3 separate regions of the Homo sapiens genome follow, and all the other regions are linked to region 1. The links are contacts of gene promoters, found by promoter capture Hi-C in human tissues and cell types (Jung and others, 2019). All regions are on one chromosome and are shown on one strand. Each heading gives the region's core, a stretch centred on a gene start or on the middle of the fragment in contact. The rest is flanking DNA. Distances are from core to core; before and after follow the strand shown.

The links. Contacts are between HindIII fragments. The study calls those that stand out against the background at their distance.
Region 2: a contact is called between a fragment that was not itself captured here and the fragment with the promoter of LENG9 in region 1, in 2 of the 25 tissues and cell types used here (dorsolateral prefrontal cortex and neural progenitor cells).
Region 3: the fragment with the promoter of TMEM86B here is called in contact with the fragment with the promoter of LENG9 in region 1 in 3 of the 25 tissues and cell types used here (H1 embryonic stem cells, liver and mesendoderm cells).

Annotation. Positions count from the first base shown.
Region 1 is chr19:54,461,365-54,465,770 of GRCh38, forward strand. LENG9 (leukocyte receptor cluster member 9) reads right to left here and starts at 2,414. Exons shown (of 1, transcript NM_001301782.2): 1 at 368-2,414. The coding sequence starts at 2,162. The coding sequence ends at 726. It overlaps CDC42EP5 (CDC42 effector protein 5), which reads right to left. Exons shown (of 3, transcript NM_145057.4): 3 at 3,662-4,183. The coding sequence starts at 4,183. The coding sequence ends at 3,737. LENG8 (leukocyte receptor cluster member 8) reads left to right here. Exons shown (of 16, transcript NM_052925.4): 16 at 1-652. The HindIII fragment of the contact is 37,347 bases long and covers 1-4,406 here.
Region 2 is chr19:55,170,383-55,174,753 of GRCh38, forward strand. It overlaps SYT5 (synaptotagmin 5), which reads right to left. Exons shown (of 9, transcript NM_003180.3): 8 at 4,135-4,268; 9 at 814-3,302. The coding sequence ends at 3,102. Among named protein-coding and RNA genes, the nearest start is that of DNAAF3, 6.0 kb to the left of the region's middle. The HindIII fragment of the contact is 4,464 bases long and covers 641-4,371 here.
Region 3 is chr19:55,225,783-55,230,012 of GRCh38, forward strand. It overlaps TMEM86B (transmembrane protein 86B), which reads right to left and starts at 2,981. Exons shown (of 3, transcript NM_173804.5): 1 at 2,909-2,981; 2 at 2,409-2,655; 3 at 856-1,781. The coding sequence starts at 2,959. The coding sequence ends at 1,399. It overlaps PPP6R1 (protein phosphatase 6 regulatory subunit 1), which reads right to left. Exons shown (of 24, transcript NM_014931.4): 24 at 3,997-4,230. The HindIII fragment of the contact is 10,515 bases long and covers 1-4,230 here.

The DNA of each region.
Region 1 (4,406 bases), core at 1,164-3,663:
GCCCACCGCCCGCTGCCTCACCTGCTTCGCCACAGACTCTTGTTCCCAGCCCCTTGGGGCCTCCGTGTTTGGGGTGGGGGAGCTGCTTAGAGACTGTGCCCGTCCTCGGCCCCCCACCCTGAAGTGCCAGCACCACCAGCACCAGATCCTCCGCCGCCACACCGCACTGAGGACACGCCGGCCGGGCCGCCTCGTCTCAAGTTGTATAAAGTTGTCTCCGTGTCCCCTCCTCCCTCTGCCCCCAGTGTTTCTTCTGATTTTTTTTTCCCCTTTCCCTCCCTCCCTCTCCGCATTCTTCCCTTGGTTCAGCACAGGTAAAACGGTTCCCCTCCCTCCCTGCCTTCATGGATCACCAGCTCACGTCATGTTGCCTTCTCTTTTCTTTGTGTGTGTGTTTATTTAAGTTATTTTTCTTCCTCCTCTCCCTTTTCTTTTTGGCCCTCCCTCCCTCCCTCTTCTGCCATGTAACTGGAGGATGTGCTATGAGTTTGCAAACAGCTGGACTGTCAGGCTGCTTTTTTTCCAGATGTTCCTCCTCTGCCTCCCCTTCCCCTCCTCTCCCCTCCTTTTCCTTCCTTCCTTCCTTTCCTTGGAGCACTGAGCACCATTTGGAAGCTTGAGAGAAACCAAAATTAAAGAGAGAAAGAGAGAGCGTGCACGCTCCTGCTTTGTCTTTCCTGTGTGGGCTGTTTGCATCCATTGTCTCCTCCAGAGGTCTGGGGGTGTCACTCCAGGGGGATCTCAGCCAGGGGCTGGAAAGGCCCCCCTGTCCTCCCTATACGGCACAGCCAGAGTGTCTGCAGGGGCTGGCACCCCACTTCCTGGCTGAGGGTGAACTCCAGCTTGGGGAGGTGGACCTGGGAACCATGGGGCACCTTGGCCACGGTGAGGTGGGGGTGCAGCTGCCCTGGAGACTGTAGTGTACTCAGCCCCTCGGCTTCCAGCCTCTGGCTCAGCACTTGTGCCATGCTTTCCAGTGTGGGAGAGGGTGGGGCACACAGCACATGCGGGCCCAGGAGGACCAGCTTTCTAAAGCTCAGCCGAGGGGGTGCATTTAGCCCCGGGGCCAAGAGGGCCCGTCTCAGAGCTCCAATGGCAGCGGCCTCCTCCCCAGCGCCTGCCAGTCGCAGCAGGGCCAGGGTCAGGTGTAGGTTCTGAGAGGGCACTAGGAAGTTGGCGCAGTGTGGGGCCACGTGGACCAGGTATTCCTGGGCCTTGGTCACTTCTGCTTGTAGCCCAGGCTCGGTCACCATGAGGGCCACAAAATGTGTGGGGCGCGGTTGGCAAGGGGCTGCAACACTAAGGCGGGCCCTTTTGTCCTCGGGCCAGGCCGCAGGACCCCACTCGGCTTCTGTCGTCTCAGCGGAGCCCCCCGGGACTCCCAGGGCCTGTGCTTCCTTGCCCCCCAGCAATGTGGTCCTGGTGGCTGCTGTTGGCTTCAGTGCCTCAGTCACTCCGGCGAGGCGTCCTCTTGGGGCCAGTGTTCCCAAATCAGCAGCTGTGCCCAGCGCCCTCTCCTGGGCCGCCTCCAGCTCTCCGGGTTCCTCCACGCCTGGTTCCTGGTGCCCTGTGCAGAGCGGCCTTGTGCTCCCTCGCTTGGGGGCAGCCTGGGCCTCCTGACCTGTCCCCGCCAGTGTCCACTCGGCACCCTCTGCCCCGTGGGCGCCCTCGGTGTTCGGTGCGTCCAGGATGGTGGGCCCGCGTCCCGCCGCCGAGCCAGAGCCAAAGACGAGGTCGGTGCGCGAGGCGCGGTCCCACACAAGGCGGCCACGGAAGCGGAAGAAGCGCACGCGGTGCTGGGGCACTGCCAGCACGCCCGGCCCGAGCGCCGCCAGCGGCTGGTCCCAGCAAAAGGCGCTGAAGGGCTCCTCGCGCACACCCAGAAAGCGGTCGACGTAGCCCACCGAGAAGTCGGCGGGGTCGAGGCGCGGGTCCCAGCGGATGCGCTGGATGACGTCCGCGGCTGTGCGCAGCGGCGGCTTCTTGGCCCCGGCCTCCGGCTGCGCCTCGCGGCCAGGCGGCGCCGGCGCCCCAGGGTGGGGCTGGCGGCAGCGGGCGCCGAAGCGGCAGCGGCCTTCCAGGAAGAAGCGGCAGGCCGGCGGGGGCGCGGGTTCCGTGGCGGGGGCTTCCTGCGGCAACTCCGGCTCTCTGGCCGCTGCCATGGGTGCGGGGAACTGGCACGCCCGCCGCGCAGACGAGGTCGCCCCGCACGGAGGGCGGCTCCCCTTGGATGCACCGAGCCTCACCCGACAGTGGCGTCAGCGGCCCGCGCTCCGGCCTAGCTCTGGGGACCACGCCGCGTGCCCTCGCGAGGACTCTGGCCCAGTCCCTCCTTGGTGGAGAGCCTGACACCGCTGCTCTGGGACTTCCCGGCTGCGCCCTCCCCCAGCGCCAGGAAAGCAAGCTGCGTAAAGGCTGCGGCAGTCTCGGTCTCCCGGAGCTCTTGGGAGCCTGGCCCCGCCCCTTTCCCGGTGATTGATGTGTGCTGCCTCTTTCTGGGTGATTTACATGTAATGCCCCGCCCCTTTCGGGATGATTACGTGTGCCTCGACCTTTAGGTGATTTACATGTAGTGCCCCGCCCCGTTCCCGGTGATTTACATGTGGTGCCCCGCCCCTTTCCTGGTGATTTACGAGTGCCCCACCCCTTTTAGGTGATTTTTTTTTTTTTTTATGTGTGCCTCTCCCCTTCCCAAGTGATTTACATATGTTCCCCGCTCCTTTCAGGGTAATTTACATGTAATGCCCCGCCCCTTTCCGGGTGATTTACGAGTGCCTCTCCCCTTCTCAAGTGATTTACATGTGTCCCGCCCCGTTCCGGGTGATTTACATGCGTGCCCTGGCCCTTTCCCAGTGATACTTTTGTGCTGCCTCTTTCCGGGTGATTTACGTGTGTGCCTCTCCCCAAGTGATTTACATGTGTGCCCTGTCCGTTTTAAGGTGATTTACATGTGGTGCCCCGCCCCTTTCCGGGTGATTTACCTGTGTCCCATCCCTTTCCCGGTGATTTACATGTGGTGCCCCGCCCCTTTCCCGGTGATACCTGTGTGCCCCGCCCATGAGGGGACGTCTTTAAAGAACCTGGACCCGCCCTCAGTCCAAGTGATTTACATTTGCGGCCCCGCCCCTCTGGGAAACTTACGAGAACCTGGCCCCTCAGTCCAAATCATTTGCATGTTCGGCCCCATCCCTCGGGGGCCTTAAAGAACCAAGATGCCTGCGGACCCTTCCCCCACGGAGACCAGGCCCCTACTGCTCTAAAAGTGTTCTCAGACACTTCCCTCTGCAGCCGCTCCCAGAGTAAACGGCGGCTCCGCCGGGTCGGAGTCCACCTGAGGCGTTCAGGGCCAGAAAGACTCCTGGGGCTGCAGCACTCTGCAGCCCCGCCTCGGCTGGCCCCGCGGTGGCTGAGTCTGGCCCGGCCCCAGGACCACGTCCGGCCGGCGGTGGCGCACAGTATTTGACGAATGGGACTGCGGGAGCCGCCGCCTCTGCAAGGGGCACCGCCTGGCCACGCCCTCGGGCTCTCTTAAAGGAGCCGCACCCCCACCCCAGGGCAATCATCGGACCCGGACCAGGCCTCCGGGTGACACATCCGGCTCTCAGAGGCGCCAGGACCCTATCATTCATCCCTTTCCACGTGCAAAGTGAAAAGTCAGAGCCCGGGCACACACCTTGGCCGTTTATGTATACAGAAGTGGGGTGCCGGGCGGGAAGGGCGCGGGGAATGAGGGAACCTAGAGGCCGATGACGTCGTTCAGCTCGAGGTCCGCGTTGGGGCGGCAGCGGGCCTGGGGGGGCTGCGTCCCGGGGCGGGGTTCCGCGTCGGGCTTGGCGGCAGCCGCCTCCGGGCGCGCCGCGTCCATGACGCCCAGCACCGCGTCCAGCATGGAGGGCCCCAGATCCAGGTGGAAGGACAGCAGCGGGTCGGCAGGCGAGGGCGCTGCGGACTGCGGGACGGCGGGCGGCGGCGGGGAGCGCGGGGCCCCCGCGGGGGGCGCCCGGGGCTCGGGGGGCGGCCCGCCGCCGTGGCGGCTCAGGAACGAGGTGTCCCCGAAGGCGTCGCCGCCGCGCCCCACGTGCAGCGTGTGCCGGAAGTCGCCGAGCGGCGCGGAGATGGACAGGGCGCCGCGATCAGGCCGCTTCTTGGGCTGCGCGGGGCCCAGCTGCTTCAGCACGGGCATCTGCGAGGGGCACGGGAGGGTCAGCGCGGCCCCAGCCCGGGGCTCGCAGCCACGCGACTGCTCAAAGGACGATGGGGGACGGTTCCCGTTTTTTGTTTTTTGATTTTTGTTTTTGAGACGGAGTCTCGCCCATGCTGGAGTTCAATGGCGCCATCCCGGCTCACCGCAACCTCCGCCTCCCGGGTTCAGGCGATTCTTCCTCCTCAGTCTCCCGAGTAGCTGG
Region 2 (4,371 bases), core at 1,623-4,122, 710 kb after region 1:
ACGAATCTACTTTCTGTCTCTATGTATTTGTCAGTGCAGGAGATTTCTTTTGGATGGAATACTGCACTATGCAGCCTTCTGTATCCGGCTTCCTTCACTTGGCATAATATTTTCAGGACTCATCTATGCTGAAGCATGAATCAATGCTTTCTTCTGTTTTTATGACCAAATAATATTCCACTGTTGTTCTCCCTAACCTTTGCAAGCTTCGTTCCTTCTTGTCATTCAAGTCATGGCCCAGACCGCACCTCCTCAGCAAGGCTGCCCCTGACCACCCTCCCTAAGTTATGTCAGCCTTTTTACGTTTTGGTCCCAGTGTGGACGGCCATTTGTAATGGTTTTATTCTTCTATCGCTCTGCTTTCTTGTTGAGACAGAGACCCAAGGACCCCATTGCCATCATCTAAATCAATCCCAGGATTTAGAGACAGGCTCTCTGGCTGTGTGATTCTGAGCATTTCACAGGAATTCTCTCTCTCTCTCTCTCTCTCTTTTTTTAGATGGAGTTTTGCTCTTGTTGTCCAGGCTGGAGTGCAATGGCGCGATCTCGACTCACTGCAACCTCCACCTCCTGGGTTCAAGCGAGTCTCCTGCCTCAGCCTCCCTAGTAGCTGGGATTACAGGTGCTTGCCACGACACCCAGTTAATTTTTGTATTTTTAGTAGAGACAGGGTTTCAGCATGTTGGCCCAGCTGGTCTTGAATTCCTGACCATAGGTGATCCGCCCACCTCAGCCTCCCAAAGTGCTGGGATTACAGGCGTGAGCCACTACGCCCAGCCCCAAATTTTCTAAAGCACAGTTTGGACTCATTTGTCAACTGGGAATAATGATCATGTTTATTTCATGAGTTTGCTGTGAGGATTATTATTGGCAGTAATAGTAGTAACATAAAGGGCTGTCTTCATAAAGACATGCTCTACAGCCACACACACACACACACACACACACACACACACACACACACTCACACACATGAAAAGTTACTGAATTCCTTTGGAGAAAAATTAAAAATCTCATGGATATTATAATCTGTGTAGCTGTTCTATTTTCACTTTCCCGATTGGCTACCAGGAAGCTTAGGAGCAAGTAAGTTTGTTTGCTGCCTCCTTTTTTGGTACGTGGGGGTAATTTTTGCCTCATTCTCCACTTAATCTGCTGCTCAGAGAGTTCTCTGGCCAAATCTTATAGGTCTTTGTTCACCACCCAAAATTCTGTATGGGATGAGATAAGGTAGAAGCCAATGGAACTATCATCTTTGCTAGAAACAGAGTAGGAGGCAGCATTCGTTGAAAGAACAATGAGGTCAGATGCGGCGGCTCATGTCTACAGTCCCAGCTACTCACACAGGAGGATTGCAGGAGTTTGAAACCAGCCTGTGCAACATAGCAAGACCCCATCTCTAAAAAAGAAAAGAAAAGAAAAGAAAAAATTAGCTAGGCATGGTTGCATGTGCCTGTGGTCCCAGCTACTCAGGAGTCTGAGGCAGGAGGATCCCCTGAGCCCAGGAGGTTGAGGCTGCAGTGAGCTATGATTGCCCCACCGCACTCCAGCCAGGGTACACAGAGAAACCCTGTCAAAAAAAGAAGAAAGAAGAGGCTGAGGCAGAAGAATCGCTTGAACCCGGGAGGCAGGGGTTGCGGTGAGCCGAGATTGCACCATTGCCCTCCATTCTGGGCAACAACAGCGAAACTCCGTCTCAAAATTAAAAAAAAGAAGAAGAGAAGAAAAGAAATAGAAAAGAAAAGAAAAGAAGAAGGGCCGGGCGCGGTGGCTCACGCCTGTAATCCTAGCACATTGGGAGGCCGAGGCGGGCGGATCACGAGGTCAGGAGATCGAGATCATCCTGGCTAACACGGTGAAATGCCGTCTCTACTAAAAATACAAAAAAATTAGCCGGGTGTGGTGGCGGGCGCCTGTAGTCCCAGCTGCTCGGGAGGCTGAGGCAGGAGAATGGCGTGAACCCGGGAGGAGGAGCTTGCAGTGAGCCGAAATCGTGCCACTGCACTCCAGCCTGGGCGACAAAGTGAGACTTCATCTCAAAAAAACAAAAACAAAAACAAAAAAACAAACAAACAAAAAAAAAACAAGAGAAAAAGAAAGAAAAGGAAAGACAGAAAGAAAACAAAAAGGAAAAAAGAAAAGAAAAAAGAAAGAGGTGAAGTTGAAATCATTGGCTTTCCTTGCTGAACTCCAACCTCTCTCGCAGGCTCTGGAGATTGTATTCCCTGGCTCCGCGCCTCTCCTTTGTTTTGATGGCAGTAAGTCGCTTGGGGGGTCAGGTCTGTGTTTGGATATTCTGGGGCCCCAGCACTCAACAGAAGACCTCAGGGAATATGGAATGGAAGGAAGAAAAAAAAGAGAGGGAGGGAGGGATGCAGAAATGGGTATGAAAATCGATGTGAGTCATGGGTGAGCAAGCGAGTGGATAAATTCATGGACAAGCAAGGGAGTTCTCGCGGACTCCTCACAGCCAGCGTGTGGCAGGAATTATTATTATCCCAACATTCTCCAGAGGAGGAAACCCAGGCTCAGAGTGGTGAGTGAGGAATGAACGGGTGAGAGTGTGAGGGAGTCCATGGGGTCAGGCCAGTCTCTCAGAGGCTTTCAGGACGAACAGCACTCACACCGCCCTGCGAGCGCCCATTCCTGGAAACGAGGTTTCCTCTTGGGTCCCAGCCCTTGCCCACCCCCATCAAGGAGCATGGGCCCAGGCCACCGGAGCTGCTGAATATTTATTTGGCCCCAGGAGCAGTGCAGGGATGGGCTGTGTTGGAAGAGAGAGGAGAGCAGACGAGGATGGCTGATTGTCAAAGCAGGGGGCAGGACCCGGGGGCAGGAGAAACCAGGCTGCCTTCCCTTCCCGGGGTCCCTGGGGCATCTGGGTGTGTCCGCGAGGGTCGGGGGAGTGTGCTGGAAAGTTGTCGTGATTGGCATCGTTGGGGGTGAGAAGACAGGAATGGTTCAGATGGTTGGGGTGGAAGGTGGGGGGAGGGTAACCGTCAGAGGAAGCTTAAGGGTGGGGCTGGCTTGGCTTTGGCCGGTCTCGGGAGTCTGGGGTCAGGGGCTAGAGTCCAGGCTTGGCCGGGGGCTTGGGGTGGGAGTCAGGGCGCAGGCAGCAGCCTCACTCGGTCCGGGGGCCGCAGCGAGTGCCACTGGGCAATGGGCCGCCGCGGGTTGGCCAGCATGTCCGCCCAGTGCCGCAGGCCAGCCCCGCCGGCGGCCGCCCCCACGGCCACCCTCCCGATGGCCTCGTTCTTGCCCAGCTTGTCGTAGTCCAGCACGGTCAGCTCCACCTGCACCTTCTGGGGTGGGCGCGGGAGGAAGAGGAGAGAGGAGCGTGAGGGGAGGAGGCCCCGGAAGGGGCGGTGTCCGTTTTCACGGCTGAGGGTACCTCTCGCTGCCACCCGAGGGCTCGGGGCCCCGGAGCTCGGGACGGGGGAGGGGGTGGGAGACGAGAGGGACGGAGCCTGCGGCGAGGAGGAGGCTCTGGCGCCTTTCTTCCTGCGCAGCCAGGTTTCTAAGGAAATGAACCCTCAGGACTCGGTTGCGGAGCGGGTGTGTTCGGCGCCTCCTGGGGGAGCAGCCTCCTAAGAGCCGCAAAGCTGCAGAACTTTAACAGGGGCCGGGCTAGGGTAGGCGCCGTCCCTAAAGAAGTGAGGGGAGGTCTCTTTTTCTTAGAACCACGTTCCTGAGGAGGGCGGGGCATCCTGGTCCTGCTTAGGGTGGGGAATCTGGTCCCGCTTAGGAGTGGGGCATCCTGGTCCCGCTTGGGGGCGGGGCATCCTGGTCCTGCTTGGGGGCGGGGCATCCTGGTCCTGCTTGGGGGCGGAGCATCCTGGTTCCGCTTGGTGGGGCGGGGCATACTGATCCTGCTTAGGGTGGAGCATCTGGTACTGCTTAGGGGTGGGACATCCCGGTCCCGCTTAGAGCAGATAGGACACCCACACCCAATTTTAAGGAGTCTCTTCCTGGAGTGGAAGAGGCTTCCTGGTCCTCATAGGAGGAAACAGACTGAGAGCATAACCTCAGACCCCCTCACCTGGTTTCTAGGGAGATGCTAAAAAGTCTCCCTCCGCCTAGCAATGGCGATTACTAAAGGTCTGGGCTCTTGGAGAAGGGCAGGTTTGAGCTCACCTGGACTTGGTCACAGGGCACCTCGAAGCTGAAAGCTTCGTTGTAATAGGGGTTCAGAGTGTTCTTCTTGATGGTGGTTTTCTTCTTCCGCACCTTTTTGCCGCCCTGCAGCAGGTGGACCTTGACGTATGGATCTGGGGAGAGGAAGGAGGAGTCTTATAGCTCCCCACTGCTGGGTTGTTGGACCAACATAGAAACACTGCCTACACCCTTCGGGTCTCCCTAGCTCTATGCCAA
Region 3 (4,230 bases), core at 1,731-4,230, 760 kb after region 1:
CCCTAAATGCAGGTCATGGATGGAGAAGTCACCTCTGCTCTAAGAGTCCCTAAATGCAGGTCATGGATAGAGAGGTCGCCTCTCTGCTGTAAGAGTCTCTAAATGCTAACCATGGATGGAGAAGTCGCCCCTCTGCTATGAGTCACTGAAAGCACATCATGGATGCAGAAGTCAAATAGGGTCTTGGAGAGCAGCTTGGACCCTGTCAAGTCTTCAGATGCAGAATCTGAGGACCTGAGGGATAGCAGCTTGCCGAGGTCACACAGCCTTGACAAGGAGCACAGCTGGGTTCCTCCTTCCCATTTGATTCCTACCCCCTTGCCGCCCTCCCTCCTCCAAGACCCCTCATCCTCAAGCCTCCCACCCTTCTCCCGATACTGCATGTGACTGCAGCGGGTTGTATCCCCTAGAAAGATATGTCCAAGTCCTAACCCCAGATACCTCTGCAGGTGACACTACTTGGAAATAGGGGCTTTGCAGACATACTTAAGGATCTTGAGATAGAATCACCCTGGGTTTAGGGTGGGCCCTAAATCCAATGACCTGTGTCCCTAGAAGGATGCGGACACAGAGGGAGGCTGCCAGTTGAAGACAGTCACATGAAGACGGAGAGACACAGCCACAGGCCGATGGAAGCCAGGGATTCCCGGGAGCCTCCAGAAGCCGAGAGGGCAAGGACGGATTCTTCCCTGGAGCCTCAAGAGGGACCATGGGCCGGAAAACACCCGGATTTTGGACTTTGGGTCTCCAGAACTGCAGGAGAGTCCATTCATCTTGTTTCAAAGCATCTGGCTTGGGGTAATTTGTGACAGCAGCCTCAGGAAACTAACACAAAGACCAAACAGTCCTCTTGGCTCAGTTCTGCACAATCCTCACTTTATCCCCCCGAATCCCCCCACCAGAGGGCCATGGAGGGTCCCACTGGGCACCAGGCCTGGTCCATGGGGAGCGACAAAGAACCTTCTGCTGTCATTAACCGCGATGGTTTATCACAATCATGACCCTCCCCGAGGCCTCTCCTACGGTAACAGCAACATCTACGGTTCCACACCCACAGGGAAAACGGATTCAGAGCAGCAGCAGGGGGCGGGCAGGCTGTGGGGCCGACAGTGAACATGGAGGCAGGCTGGTGGCTGGGAGGGCTCCATGTGGGCCTGGCTGAGGAGCCAGGGATCTGGAGTCAGAACCGGGGGAAGGCAGCTGGAACCCAGTAGTGGACTTGGAATTCCGCAAATCGTCCTCAAACGTCTTCAGCCAGAAGCGACGGCGGCAGCGGCGCCTGCAGACAGGCGTCAGGAAGCTTCGCTGCTGAGGGTATTTCTCAGGCTGGGCTGGGCTGGGAGGCCCAGGTCCTTGCAGGAGGAGAGGGCCTGAACACCGGCCCTTCAAGCTCCCTAGTCAGTCAGTCTTGGGCACCGGGCTCCTGAGGGCTGACAGTGTGATGAGGAGCTGGGCAGCATAGTAGGTGGTCATGATCACCAGGTGGGCATGGGGCAGGGGCTGGGCGAAGGTGTCCCAGGCCAGCACGCCATCAGAGAGCGTGAAGAGCAGCGCGCCCCAGCCGGCACTCCCGCCCTGGGCCAGGCCGCGCCACAGCATGGCCATCAGGATCAGCCCATAGGCTGCCACCGGCAGGACCATATCCGGCTCGAGGTGCTGGAGCACAAGGCTGAGGTAGGGGCCAGGGGCCAGGATGATGAGCAGCAGCAGGCCGGGCTGCAGGGGAGAGAAGCCGAAGGCCCAGACGTAGAGGAGGTGGGCGGTGGCAAAGGCGGCCATGCCTGGCGGGAGAGGGGTGGGGTACCAGTGAGGAAGGCCCATCCTGGGAATGGCCCCGAGGTCACCCCTCAGGGCCTAAGAGAAGGACCATCCCAGAGCACCAGGCCCCACCCTGGCCGAGCCTCCTTGCAGGTCTCCCCACATGCAGTGTCCATCCTTGCTCTGCTCAGAACTGCCAGGAGGCCCCACCTTCCCTTGGCCTCCAAAGCCCCATGGCCTCCAGCTCTCCAGCCACTCTGCGCCAGCCACCCTGGCCTGCTGGGCTACAAGCACCTGACACGTCCCTGCCCCGGAGCCTTTACACTCGCCCTTCCTCCACACAGGCATACAGCCCTTCAGCTCTGCCCAAATGTGACTTCCTCAGTGAGGCCTTCCTCAGCAACCCTGCTTCAAACTGCAGTACCTCCAGCAGGTCCTCACTGCCCTCTGCGCCACCTCAGCTACTGCCCTAACACCGCCTGCCCCCACCCCTCGCTGGAGCGTGAGCTGCCTCGGTCACGGCTGCGCCCCCCACTGTGCCTTTGACCACTGGAGCTCTCACAGGAGCCCTCTGCACCCAGGCTCCCATCCAAGTGCTGGGGCCTCTCTCACACGGGCATCTGGAAAGCGTCACAGCACCTTCCACTCACCAGGGACGAAGGCTGCCGGCCAGATGAGGCAAGCGTCCCCCACAGCCGAGCACACAAGGGCTCCCTGGAGGAGCTGGGTGTAGCCCCCGCTTGGGGACATGACCCACAGGAACCCAGCCAGGCAGAGGACGGGCAGGCACTTGACCAGGGCAGCGAACCAGGACAGCTGGTCCTCGGGAATCCAGAGGCAGAAGTACACGCAGCAGGAGAGGATGAAGGGGCTCAGCCACCTGCAGACATCTGGGCGCTTTGGGGAGTGGGGAGCTACTGAGCCGAAACCCAGCCCAGCCCCCATTCTTGGGACTCAGATCTCATGGCTCCTGTCCCACCCCCACCTGGGACCCCAGCTGTACAGGCTGGACCCATTCAGGGACCAGGCTGCCAGAACCCAGCTTCCCAGGGCCCAACCAACTCAAGGACAGCAGCTCCCAGACCCGCCGGCTGCTGGGGTTCCAGGGCCCTGTCCCCCCAGCCCCAGGCACAGCTCAGAAGGCTCTCACCTGGGCTGAGCAGTGAGTCTTCAGGGTCTGCCCCGCTTTGCCAGCGTCCATGCTGGCCTGATAGCCCCAGAGCGACCTAATCTGGGAGCGAGTGGCTTCAGGGGGTGGAGGGGAGGGCTCATGGTTACACGTTAACCCAAGGAGCGTCCTGTGGACTCTGTGACTGATAACAGGGCCCAGGGAGATGTTGTCCTCACCCTGGGGATGGCCCTGCCTGGCGCCCGCTGATAAAGCACTGTTGGCACTGGGGGTCCCTCTGCCCTAGCCTGCTGGGACATGGCTTCCTCCTCCTATCTGCCTGGGGAGGTTAGGCCCACAAATGCCTGTCCCCTTGTCCTGGGCCCCAACAATCAGAAGAGATGGGGTGCAGAATTCCAACAGCCACCCCATCATGGGAAGCGGGAGAGGGGCTGGCTGGCAGGAGTGCCCCTGGAGGGATGGGAAGGCGAGTCTGTCCTTCACTTGCTGCCCTAGCCGTCTCCCTCCCTGCTCCATGAAACCTTTCCTCATTCTGCTCAACCCCACCAAGCCCTCAGGGGCTCCACCACAAACACTGCTTCAATGGGTGACCAGGAGGGACCACCACGAATGCGGGGAACAAGCACCCTCTCCTGTTAGCTGAGCGAGCCCCCAGGTGACCTCCAAGCCAACTGCCACCCCAGTGAGGACGCTGTCCTCATGGCCCGGTCCACACGCTCCGGTTTCCCAGCGCCGCTCACCGGTGCCACTCGCTGCACACGCAGCCTACACTTCTACCTTCTACCTGAAAGACTCAGACCTACTGGGCGCCAGTACCCAGCCTCAATGCTGGGCTTGGTTACTGGGGGTAAGCAGGGGCAGGAGCAGGGATTTGAGCCTGTCGGTGGCTTCTATCCTCTGCCCAAGGCCCTGCCCACAGGTGGGGTAGACCTGGCAGGAGCCCTCACAGCCAGTGCCTGGCCCAGCCTGGGGCCTCTGCAGCCACAGGGCTCCCTCTGGCAGGACAGTGTGGGGGCAGACTGGGTCAGGAGCACCCCCAGCCTCTGGGGTGCAGGGATAATACAGGCTCCCCACCCCGCATCCCAGAACGTAAGGTCTGACCAGCAGAATCGTAAACTGCCTTCCTTTATTTATATTTGCAATATGAAATAGAAGCTCGGCACAAACGCACGCACACTCACACCAGCCTGGGAGGAGGGAGCTGGGGACAAGGTCACTTGGCAACAGGGCTGGGACCTCAGACCCTCAAGGCCCCTGGGGCTGTTGCCGGGGAGGCCCCTGCTCCCCAGAGCCGGACTGGCCTGGTTGAAAGTGCAGGGTCTGGGCAAAGGCACGGCCCCCAC